Regions from separate parts of the Homo sapiens genome. Here region 2 is linked to region 1. The links are contacts of gene promoters, found by promoter capture Hi-C in human tissues and cell types (Jung and others, 2019). All regions are on one chromosome and are shown on one strand. The core of a region is centred on a gene start or on the middle of the fragment in contact, and the rest is flanking DNA. Distances in the headings are between cores, read along the strand shown. Region 1 holds the start of FOXE1 (forkhead box E1). Region 2 overlaps PTCSC2 (papillary thyroid carcinoma susceptibility candidate 2).

What was found. The method cuts DNA at HindIII sites, captures the fragments that hold promoters and counts their contacts. A contact is called where the count stands out against the background at its distance.
Region 2: a fragment that was not itself captured here is called in contact with the fragment with the promoter of FOXE1 in region 1 in 7 of the 25 tissues and cell types used here (IMR-90 fibroblasts, aorta, heart right ventricle and 4 more).

Annotation. Positions count from the first base shown.
Region 1 is chr9:97,851,061-97,857,359 of GRCh38, forward strand. FOXE1 (forkhead box E1) reads left to right here and starts at 2,166. Exons shown (of 1, transcript NM_004473.4): 1 at 2,166-5,657. The coding sequence starts at 2,855. The coding sequence ends at 3,976. PTCSC2 (papillary thyroid carcinoma susceptibility candidate 2) reads right to left here and starts at 2,020. Exons shown (of 11, transcript NR_147055.1): 1 at 1,856-2,020. RefSeq lists an enhancer at 633-1,134. The HindIII fragment of the contact is 9,888 bases long and covers 1-6,299 here.
Region 2 is chr9:97,767,185-97,773,004 of GRCh38, forward strand. The region is part of intron 5 of PTCSC2 (papillary thyroid carcinoma susceptibility candidate 2); the gene reads right to left. Among named protein-coding and RNA genes, the nearest start is that of XPA, 73 kb to the left of the region's middle. RefSeq lists enhancers at 4,699-5,200, 5,201-5,700. The HindIII fragment of the contact is 8,607 bases long and covers 1-5,820 here.

The DNA of each region.
Region 1 (6,299 bases), core at 916-3,415:
CCCCGTTTTTTGTTTGTTTTGTTTTGCTTTTAAGAGACCGGGTCTCCCTTTGCTGCACAGGCTGGAGTGCTGTGGCTACTCACAGGCACAATGATTGTGCACTACAGCCTGGAACTCCTGGGCTCAAGCGATCTTCCTGCCTTAACCTCCAGTAGCTGGGACTACAGGCTCCCGCCACCGTGCCTGGTTTAGTCCCAGTATCTTAATACATAGGTTTTTAGACTTTGACTAGAAGCTTAAGTCAAAGGAATATAAGCATAGTCAAAGTTAGACTCCCAGTCTTGGAATCTTAGAATTACAGGGTCGCAGGATCGCAGGATCGCATTCTTTAGATTTATGGAATCACGTTAGGACAACGGTCGTCCAGAATTTAAAATCTAGATATCTGAATCTCAGAATCTTGAAAGTTACTGAGAGCCACGAAATCCCGTATTAAAAGGTGCCTATAATATAATCCAGTTAAAAATTTTAAAATTTGAAGTTTTTCCTCCTTTGTAAAAACGAAACAGGACGAAATCTGGGTTTTTTGCTTCTCCATTACTTGGGAAGAAGGAAACCAGGAGTTTTGTTTAGCGAGTGTAAAGCCCCTCTCCCTTCGTTCGACCAACCCTCTGCCGCAGAAGGTTGTCAAGCAAACGCTTTGAGCGTTTCCACACACCGGGTCGACGGAGCAAGGATCTGGGCTTTGCCTCGCTCTTCCGAAGGCAGCTGCCCAACGCTTGGCCGGGCTTAGCCTGCCCTCAGCTCACCGCCACGAAGAACGCGACTAAAACCCTGGAAGGCATGCCACCCGTTACTGGCCAGAACTCTCGTCTTGGGATCTCCCACACTCACCTGGCACCACCATCCGCGCGGCTCTGCACCCACAGCCCCGGCCCGCCCCCCCCCCCCACCCCGGAAAGCTGCGTCCGGGCTGGAGCCACTGGAACCCGCGCCAAGGCCCGGAATCCTATACGTAGCAGGGGCCTCGGAGATCAGCACACGCCCTCCAGCTGCTATTTAACAGAGTAGAACACTGAGGCCCTGCGAGGGGACAAGGACAGGCCCTGGATCTCCCAGTGAATGGCCAGGGAACGAACCCGGGCCAGAGGGGCCGCGCCGCGAGGATCTCAGGTTAGGACCAAGTTCCGGCTCAGGGACAGCAGGAAAGGAACTCAGAAATTGGACACCCATGAAGCAAACGTGTCCCGACTGCCCGCCCCTTCCCCCGGAGACGCGCCCACCCGGCCACCGCTCTCTTCCCACTCCCCCATTACCCGCAGCCCTCACTCCCCGCTGCGGGAAGGGGCTGCTTGGCTGCCTCTGGGGGTCTTCAGAGCTACCCTGGTCCCGGGGGATTGGAGGAGGAGGTTACCTATCCTGCGTCGTCTTTAATCCGTGCACCACTATCCATCAAATAGAGACAGATCCTGGGCCTCTCAAAGACGGATGATTGGGGGTGGTGATTGGCCTATCCCTAAATATCTACCACGCAAGGACTCTTGAGAGATCCAGACCCCGGTACAGTCGAGGGACCTGGGGCCCAAAAAGGGAAAGCGGCTACCTCTACCACACAGTTGGGAAGCGCAGTCCTAAAGGAGACGCAGGTTGGAGACTCCGCTAAGCGGAGAAGCCGCAGTGGGGCCATGGCAAGTCACCTTCCCTTTCGGGCCTAGGAATACTCATTCGAAAGATGGGGGGACTGGAGTGCCGAGTGGCTGTGGCAGCCACGATTGGGGTTTGGAAACCATCCTGAAAGGCCCGGGGAGCCAGTCTCCTGGAACTTCTCCCTCCCCATTCCCACAAAAACCAAGCGCCCTCTCGGCCAATTCTCACCCTCTCAGGACAAAAAAGTGAGATGAGCCCGTCCTTTCACCTGCGAGTCCAAGCCCTTGGCAGAGGCCTGAAAAGTCCGAAAACTCCGAGTTCGGGCGCTGAGGTCTCCCGAGCCGGTTCCTGAACTCTCCGGGCCTCAGTCGATCGGGGTGCGGAGGGGGCCGACCCGGGGGATCTCCAAGCGCCCTCCCCGCCCTGACGCTGTGGGGCTCCTACCGCGCCGCCACAGCTGCTCCTACCTGGGGAGGTGCGCCCGGGCCCCGGGGGGCGGGCAGTCGGGGGGCGGGCAGGGAACCGGTGCCGCCCCACGCTTCGTGGCCCCTTTAAGGAGGGGAAGCCGGCGGAGGGAGGAGCCGGTCCGGTGTGTGCAGGGGAGCGCCTCGCCAGCGGTCCGCAGGGCTGGAGACCCACGCCGTGGAGAGGACCAGCCTCAGGTCGCCCCGCCTGGGCCCGCGCCCCGACCTCGCTGCCCCCGCCTCGCCTCTCTGCCCGTGGCGCTTACGGCCACCTTGGCCTCGGGGGCAGGGCATGGGCGGCCCCCGCCAGATCGCCCAGCGCCAGTACTAACTGCCCTCGCTCTGGCCTTCGAGCCCGAAGCCTCTTCTGCGCGCACAACCTAGGCAGTAATCCTAAACTAGCGGGCACCACAGACCAGCTGCAGCCACCCCAACCCAGGGATCACTTCCGGACCCCTCGACCGCCCGGCACCAGCGCGCAAGGGACCCTTCAGCCGGAGACCAGAGTCCAGTCCCGGTCACGAGGCCACCGCCGCTGCCCGCCTCGAGAAGCACCACGCGGGCTGAGCCGTCGGCTAGCGGGTCACTCCCGAGCCTCTGTCTGCACCGCGCCAGCCCCAGACCACGGACGCTGAGCCTCCAGCGCGTGCCAGCCTGGGCCGCTGGGCTCTCGGGGCCAGCCCGCGACGATCCCCTGAGCTCTCCGCAGAAGGGCCGAGCGTCCGTTCCGGGGACGCCAGGCCCGCCCCCGCCCCCCGACAGCCGCGGGGATCCAGAGCCCGGGGGTGCGGGACGCCCGCGCCATGACTGCCGAGAGCGGGCCGCCGCCGCCGCAGCCGGAGGTGCTGGCTACCGTGAAGGAAGAGCGCGGCGAGACGGCAGCAGGGGCCGGGGTCCCAGGGGAGGCCACGGGCCGCGGGGCGGGCGGGCGGCGCCGCAAGCGCCCCCTGCAGCGCGGGAAGCCGCCCTACAGCTACATCGCGCTCATCGCCATGGCCATCGCGCACGCGCCCGAGCGCCGCCTCACGCTGGGCGGCATCTACAAGTTCATCACCGAGCGCTTCCCCTTCTACCGCGACAACCCCAAAAAGTGGCAGAACAGCATCCGCCACAACCTCACACTCAACGACTGCTTCCTCAAGATCCCGCGCGAGGCCGGCCGCCCGGGTAAGGGCAACTACTGGGCGCTTGACCCCAACGCGGAGGACATGTTCGAGAGCGGCAGCTTCCTGCGCCGCCGCAAGCGCTTCAAGCGCTCGGACCTCTCCACCTACCCGGCTTACATGCACGACGCGGCGGCTGCCGCAGCCGCCGCCGCCGCCGCCGCCGCCGCCGCCGCCATCTTCCCAGGCGCGGTGCCCGCCGCGCGCCCCCCCTACCCGGGCGCCGTCTATGCAGGCTACGCGCCGCCGTCGCTGGCCGCGCCGCCTCCAGTCTACTACCCCGCGGCGTCGCCCGGCCCTTGCCGCGTCTTCGGCCTGGTTCCTGAGCGGCCGCTCAGCCCAGAGCTGGGGCCCGCACCGTCGGGGCCCGGCGGCTCTTGCGCCTTTGCCTCCGCCGGCGCCCCCGCTACCACCACCGGCTACCAGCCCGCAGGCTGCACCGGGGCCCGGCCGGCCAACCCCTCCGCCTATGCGGCTGCCTACGCGGGCCCCGACGGCGCGTACCCGCAGGGCGCCGGCAGTGCGATCTTTGCCGCTGCTGGCCGCCTGGCGGGACCCGCTTCGCCCCCAGCGGGCGGCAGCAGTGGCGGCGTGGAGACCACGGTGGACTTCTACGGGCGCACGTCGCCCGGCCAGTTCGGAGCGCTGGGAGCCTGCTACAACCCTGGCGGGCAGCTCGGAGGGGCCAGTGCAGGCGCCTACCATGCTCGCCATGCTGCCGCTTATCCCGGTGGGATAGATCGGTTCGTGTCCGCCATGTGAGCCAGCGTAGGGACGAAAACTCATAGACACATCGGCTGTTCACACGTTCCCCGCAATCTGAGAACGAACAGGAATGGAGAGAGGACTCAACTGGGACCCACGTGGAAAAGACCGAGCAGGCCACAGAGGCTCGGTCTCCCCGCGCACAGCGTAGGCACCCGGTGTACTCTGTAAACGGGAGGAGGTGGGGCGAGGCAGCCAGAGCCCTTGGACTGGCACAGGGACCCTCGATGGAGCGAAGCCCTCAAACGGGATGCTTTCTGGTATTCTATCGGGGAGGGTCCTTGGCGGTAACCAGAGGGCAGCGTAGTGTCAACACCAGAGACCAGGATCCAAATTGTGGGGAATCAGTTTCAGCCTTCCATGTGCTGCCGGAACTCGGGCCTTTTTACGCGGTTCGTCCTCTAGTGCCTTTAACTGCGTTACTACAATAAAAGGCTGCGGCAGCGCCTTTCTTCTTAAAGTGAGGAGGACAAATTTGCAAAAGAAATAGGCTTTTCTTCTTTTTTAAATTGGAGAAATCTCTGCTCTGGTTGACCTGGGCTGGTTTTCCCTGTCTCTGAGAACTTGAGACCTAGCTCCGAGTTGAACTGTGCGTCAGCACTCCAGTCCCATCACCTGAACCTTCAGTCTCCCCCATCTGTTACACTAGAGGGCTGCAGGACTCTATCCACCGCCCCCGGGTTATCATTCAGGGCCCCATCATCTTGGATGCTGCCCTGCGTATTTGGCAGCAATGGTGGGCCACCCAGGGCCTCTGAGTAGCCACCCAAAGCCTAGCCGCTGTTCTAGGGAACGGAAAAGAGTTCATGGCCAAGCGTCTAACCTAAAGTCCCAGGATTGGCTCCAGGCAGCAATTATATCATAACTTATTGAACTTTTGAGCAGGACGTGCTGGTAATTTCATGGCTGTTACTGCCCAGTCATAAATCTGCTTTTCCATTATAAGGCAGAGAGAAGTACATTCGTTCATTTGTCCACTGTTTCTTGTCATCACGCAGCCCTGGACCCAAAGGGTGAACTAAAGTTTAAGGAGATGAGAGGATTCAAGGAGCCCGTTGGTGACGCCTTTCAGTAGCTGGGGAGGGCTCTTCCATCCCCAGCACCCCCTGCTACACCTCAGCAGCCTCCCCCATGCAAAAAGGAAAGAGAAAAATTAAGTTAGGGCAGTCAGTAAAGTGAGCTTTAGAAAGAAACTGGAATTTTAACTTCATTTTGTATCTTGCTTAAGTAGCAGGCTCACTAAAATTAGAGAAAGTCCAATAACTCTCCCCCTTTCCCTTGAGAAATCTTTAAGTTTCGATTCTGGAGCAAAAACTTTCAGCATTAAATATTTCAGAGGCTCCATTCACAGCTTTCAGATAAACTGGAGTGTTCAGATGGACTGTTTTAATAAAAATCTTTGAGCAAGTGAGTTATGGCAAGAGAAACTCAGCCTCTTTCTGTATAAACTTAACAGGGAAGGGCTGGGGTGTGAAAAAGAAGATTGTATGAAAACCATTGGTAATTTTTATTTTTTATTTTTGGGACTGCACTATCCTGTTCACGAAGACATGTGAACTTGGTTCAGTCCAAATGGGGATTTGTATAAACCAGTGCTCTCCATTAGAAATATGGTGCAAGCCACATATGTAATTTTAAATATTCTAGTAGCCACATTAATAAAGTAAAAAGAAACAGGTGAGGTTAATTTGAATGATATACTTAACCCAACATATCAAAAATATTATGATTTCAACATATAATCAATGTAAAAATTGAGATGTTTTGCTCTCCTTTTACATGAAGGGTTTACAATTTGGAGTGTGTTTTACACTTACAGCTTCTCTAAATGTGGACTAGTCACCTGCTAGGTGTTCAGTAGCAACACTGTGTTGTGCAGTGCAGGTCTAGGTGCTGGCCCTTCCTGGCTTTGGTGGTGGTACCTGGAAGCACTTGAGCGCTGACCCTGCCACCCGTCGGCCCAAATTCCAGACCCAGCCTTGTGACCTTGAAGAGTGCAGGTATTGGGCCGCCCTCCTCTCCCTAAGAATCTTTGCAGGTATGGAGTTCAAGGGTTCTCCTTCATTCAGCTAGACAAGCTGGCTGTCCCAGGTGCAGAGGTCAGGATGACTTGCCTGGTTGAGAAGAATGGGAAAGTAAGAGTTCTCCACCCAGGAGTTTTGTTCTGGGCTGCAGAAGAGCCCAGGCGTGGGACTGGGGCTGGAGAAGGCTGGTTTTTGCCCTTAGTGCCAGAGTTGAGGCTTTCTCTGTTTCCTAATGAGCAAGTCCAGTGCTTTGACAGCACCACTAATCTTAAGCCAGTCCCTTCTCCTCTCGGGTC
Region 2 (5,820 bases), core at 317-2,816, 84 kb before region 1:
ATACAAAAATTAGCTAGTCATGGTAGCATGTGCCTGTAGCCCCAGCTACTCAGGAGGCTGAGGCAGGAGAATTGCTTGAAGCTGGGAGGCGGAGGTTGCAGTGAGTCGAGATTGCGCCACTGCACTCCAGCCTGGGCAACAGAGGGAGACTCTGTCTCACAAAAAAAAAAAAAAAAAAAAAAAATTAAACTAACTAAATAAAAGTTAAAATTTAGTTCCTCAGTCACACTAGCCTCAAAGGCCTCAATAACCCTATGTAGCTACTGGCTACTGATTGGACAACACAAACATAGAACATTTCCATCATTGTAGAAAGTCCTTTTCTAGAAACTCAAACTATGGCTGCAGAACTAAGAGGGGCAGACCATCTGCTACAAACACCATTCTTTTCCAACCCAGCACCCAGCACTAGGCCAGACACAGCCTCCTTCCTCCTCTCTCTCCTTCCTTTCCACCCATCTTTCTCCACACCCCTTTCCAGGAGCAGATCATAATCCCGGAAGAGACAACCTTGAACACCATAATCCCAAATATTGAAAAATCCTGAAGGATCAAAATCCCAAAAACACAATTCTGGAAAAAATAATTTAAAAATTCTTGAAAAGATATTTATTTACATCTTTAAAAGAAGATTTATTTGAGAAACACAAAAACACATAGGCCACTTTACACAATAAAATAGGCAATAATATCATACATATTTTTGCAAGCATAAATACTCAAGTGTACTAACAACAGTTATACAAGTATGACAGTTATGAGCAGATGTACTATATTCATAAAGAAATAGGTTACAAATGGAAATGTATAAATGCATACCACCATAGTTAGTAGTTGTAGGCACCCAGATTTATAACGGCAGTCATCTGAAATACCATGATGAACATCCTAAGTCTTTTGATGACATCAATAAAAAACCATGGTGCGTCACCACCAAATATGCAGTCACCCAAAGGGCCAAGATCTCAAGAAATGTTATTTTTACAAATGCAGATGTACAAAAAAGGACATATTTTCCTTTACTGAGGAAGCTTCAATGTTTTTACATACATGTACAATGCTTACACACAAGCCAACATTGTGATGCTGTACTTTCATGGAGTCAAATTTGTAAAAGCTGCATAAAACAAATTAGAACTCTGAAAGCCTCTATACAATTTATACTACAAGTATTGGAAATGATGCAAAGATGAGATATGAAGGGTAGTGAATTGTAAAAAATAATACTGACAATTTTAAATAGTAGGGGGAAAACCCCAAAAGATTTAAAAACTAAAAAGAAAATTTGACATATTGAAAAGTGTATTATAGGGATAGATTATGGGCAATTGCACAGAGATAGTCCATAAGAGCTAGCTGATTTTCATGATTATTAACTATGTTTTGAAGTCTTGCATCATGATAAATAGCTGCTTATTATTTTTTTGGACACAGATCTCCTTGGAAAATACATTCACATTCATTTTCTATGTGGCACTGCTCTTTTTGAAATCCTTCTATGATACAATACACACTGACATTAGCATTTCCTATTAAATTTTCCAATCTTTTGAGCCCTGCTTCTGTGTTGTTTTGAGTACTCCAAAATGCATTCCACAAGCGTGCATATACAGACCACAAATTTGGTGGAAACGATAATGGCGATCAAACAGTAACACATTGTAACACCATTGGCTGTCTCCTTATCCTACCACGAAAATAATTGTTTTCAAACTAGTCAATAACGTCACCAGCTTCTTCAGGCAAATGTGGCTTTAATTCATTAAAAGCTCCTGGAATGTCATCAGCTAGAAGGAATGTCAATGCAGGCCAAGGAAACATTCTTAAACAGAAGTTTTCATAACTGCAATATTGCTTGGCCAAACAACTCATCTGAATTTTCCACCAGATGCAAATAAAGACAACAGCAAGGTAATAGTTCCGCCTAACGTGATGCAACTAACATAATGTAACTGCTCTGTGTGCAACCGAAACCCCCACTAATCCCACCTCCAGAATTCAGCTTTCAGGATGATGGTGTTTGGGATTGTGTTTTTTTGGATTAAGATCCAAAAGCCACTCTTCCTGTCCCCCAACAGGGTCAAGTGAGTCAAACGAGTCATTCACAGCAGCTTCAGAGTTCACAAAGCCTTTTTACAGTTTGCGTATCTCCAACCCTTCGCTACAATCCTAGACAGCAAGGAGGGAAGGAATTATGATTTTCATTTTACAGGTGAGGAAATCAGAACTCAGAGAGGTTGTGACTTGCCCAAGATTTCCCAACAGGCAAATGTCAGAGCCTGGATCAGACTTCAGACTCAGGCCCCCTCTTTTTCTCCAGTGCCGTGTCACCTCTCACTAAGGGGTCATCTAATCCAGCCTGCTATCTGATATACTAATGCCTTCAACAACGTCCCTGTCCAGTGACTATCCAGCTTCTGCCTAAACACTCCCCAAGACACGAGCCTCACTACCATTCCCTGAAGCAGCGAGATGCATCTTTAGACAGCTCTGCCAGAAAACACTTGCTCAGTCAGGGTCAAAATCAGCCGTCTTGTAACACTCCTGTCTGAGACCTCAGTAATCATGCCATGCAGCCATTCAAATGCCTTCTGCGACACAGATGCCGGCCCACTTCCAGCATCTGCTCGCTCACCTCCAGTTTGGGGAATTCAACACCACTCAAGCCGACCCTTTCCTTCTTTGAGTATTTAAAAATCATCCTCCCTCCCGCAACTCCTCCCCACTGGCTTTGTCCTCTGTGGCCCCCACAGACCACATCTGTTCCTTCTGCCCCAGGGTAGCCCCTCAGAGACAACGACCATGCCCCTAAGTTTTATTTTTCTTCTGGCTGCAGCCTTAACAGGTCACCAGGGACGGGATGCTCTGTCCTGCTAGCCTGACTTCCTCTACTTCCCTTTCCCCTGAGCACATGGACCCCCACATTTCCACAGGAGGCCAACGTCATGTCTATAATAACAACTACTGCCATACACTGTGTGTTCACCATGTGCCAGGCACCTTAATGAGTGCTCTGCTTGTATTCCATCTTCAATAACTCTGCATTATTATTCCCATTAGACTGCCTATGTATACATGGCTGTCACTCTGGGTTGAGGGGACAACTGCAGGAATCTGAAGGATGGATGTGACCAGAAACAACCCAGGTTTGAACCTGTGTCAGTCCCAAGACTCCAGGCCCCAAGGAAGGTGGAGGAGTTCAGAGGTATACAGAATCTGATTATGGGCACAGACCACAGGGGCAAAAGACTTGGGTTTAAATTGTAACCGTTTACCGACTATGTGACTTTGGGCAAGTCACTTCACCTCTCTCAGCCTCCATTTCTTCATGTTTAAAATGGAGCCAGTAGCAGGGAGCTAGTAGTATGGAGCCCACATGTTGCAGTAAGGAGACAATGAATGCTGGCTCAGTGCTCAGCCATGGAAGCTAACACCAACATTGTCATCAATATTATTACAGAGAGATCATACCCAGGGCTGAGGCTGGTGCATGTCATAGTCTTGTCCCCCCTACACACACACACTGAGCCTGGTCAGACACAGTGTCTTCCTGCACCCCCACGCACCTTCCAGCAAATGCCTGAAACCTGAGGTGGGTGCAGATGGGCTATATGAGGGAGGGGTGTGAGAAGCCTGAGGGGGCATGGCTTGTAATGAACTGGGCATCACTCAAACTTCTCTACAGTAAAGAGAAAGGGCAATGGACAGGAAATAAAGGGTGAAAGAGAGTGAGGAGATAGAAAGAAAAAGACTGAAAATGCTGCCATCTCACTGCTAATGAAAGCATGGCTTCAGGCAAGTTATTTTCCCTTCTGAGCCTCCATGTGCAACTCTGTCAAATGGGCTAGTAACTCTGTCTGAGCCTCCATGTGCAACTCTGTCAAATGGGCTGACTGGGGTGAGGATGAAGTGAGGTGCTGCACCTGGAAGCCCCCAGCCAAGGTGTAGCCCACAGGAGCCCTCAGGGAAGCTCTGCTCCTGGGCAGGGAGAGCTCTGTCCAGCACGGCAATCCACAAGAACAACAATATAATCAGAACAACATGATGCCTACTGTTTTCCAAATACTGTGTGGGGCCAGTCCTCACAGCAACCTTTGAGGAAGGTGTCATTATCCTCACTTACAGGTGAACAAACTGACAGTTAAGCAGGAAGCAGGTAACATGTACAAAGTCACCCAGTAAGCCAAGATGCCAGGACTGGCACCTGGGTCTGGCTGATGCCAAATTTTGTTCCCCGAAAATCAAACTGTGGATCCCCTGTGAGCCAGGCACTGGGTGTGAGAGCCTTTCCATAAATCTTCCCTCCTAGCCCAAGGATCACCCTGGACCACTTCCACTGGGGATGATGGAGGAAGACTAGACAGAAGCCCAGTGCCCTGAGTTCTGGTCCCCTCTCTGCTACAAGACGCTGCATGGTCACAGGCTACTCCTTCCTGCTCCTCAGCCTCAGTTTCTTTATCTGTATCATGGAGGTCCTGGAAGTCCGGACTTTCAGGGTTTTCTGACTAACACTGAGATTGCGCACACAGTAGCAGGAAGTTGGAGGAGGAAAGTCATCTTAATGGGAGCAGAGTACTGCATTCCTCTATCCCTTAATAACCACTAATTAGTTAATCCCTGTAGCAGCAAAGTGAGTTATCAGGTATTATTAGCCCCAATTTACAAGCAGGAGGTTGAAGGAGAGAAGAACTGACAGAGGGATTGGTCCCAGGCTCTAGGCAGAGTTGGGATCAGTGAAAACCCAACAGACACTACAAATTGCTTCAAGATTGGGGGAGGAGCAGCAGAGAAGCGAGGGAGGCCTCAAAGGGGAGGAACCACACAGGAAGGTGCTTCTGATCCTCATGAAGTTGAGGTCCCTCTGAGGGCACCTGGGCCTGCTCTGTCTATGCACAGATGTGTGGACCTAGGCCCAGAGATGGAGAGAGACTGGCCCAAGGTCACACAGCCAAAAGTGCAGACAAGGAGTGCAGAGCTCCATCGGTTCTCAGCTGAGGCTGTTCTGATGGGGGTTGGGGCGATGGCTTCTAAGAGCTGAGCTTCTTCCATGGCCCTCCCTGAATTCCTAGAGAAGCAGCCAGCTGTAAGCCCCCAGGGATGGTGTGTGTACTAATGGCCTGTGACAAAGGCAGAGGATAAGCTCCCTGCTCTGCAGACTAAACAAGGCACAAGAAGCCAAGTCAAACAAAAGCTGAGGTTTTGTGTCGGCCCAGCTGGTGGGCTAGAAGCGGCCCAGCCTCTTGGGAGGCCAGGCCCTGAGCCATCACCTGGAATCTCCTCTGGTGGCCTTTCTCCCTTTTGCCACTGAGGGCTGCACAGAAGCATGTCCACAACACATGTCCTCACTCTGTGACCAACCCTGCTTTGTAGCACACAATGCACTTTCATCACAAGGCCCCAAGATGACAAAACTGAGGCTCAGAGAGGGGAAGGAAGATGCTTACCCCAAGTCACATAGCAAGTTAGGCAGGAGACTGGGCACAAGACCTCCTGACTTCCGCACCACCACAACCCTCAAATTTTTTTTAATGAGTGTTTTTCTTTAAAACATAGTATGAACACTGGAACAGAGGGAAATGCAGTATTCCAATTTCCATCCACAGTGTTGTCCGACCTGGCATCTCACTGGAGTCCCCAAGCACAGGCCCTGGCAGCAGACCAGGCTGGGTTCAAGTCCTACTCCTGCCTTTTGCTAGCCCCACGGCTTTGGCAAATTACTGCAGTTGGAATTATTAACTGTTGGAATTATTAAATTGTTGGAATTATTAAGTGAACTAATGGGCACAGACATTTTGTTCCACACTTAGCATATAGTAAGCA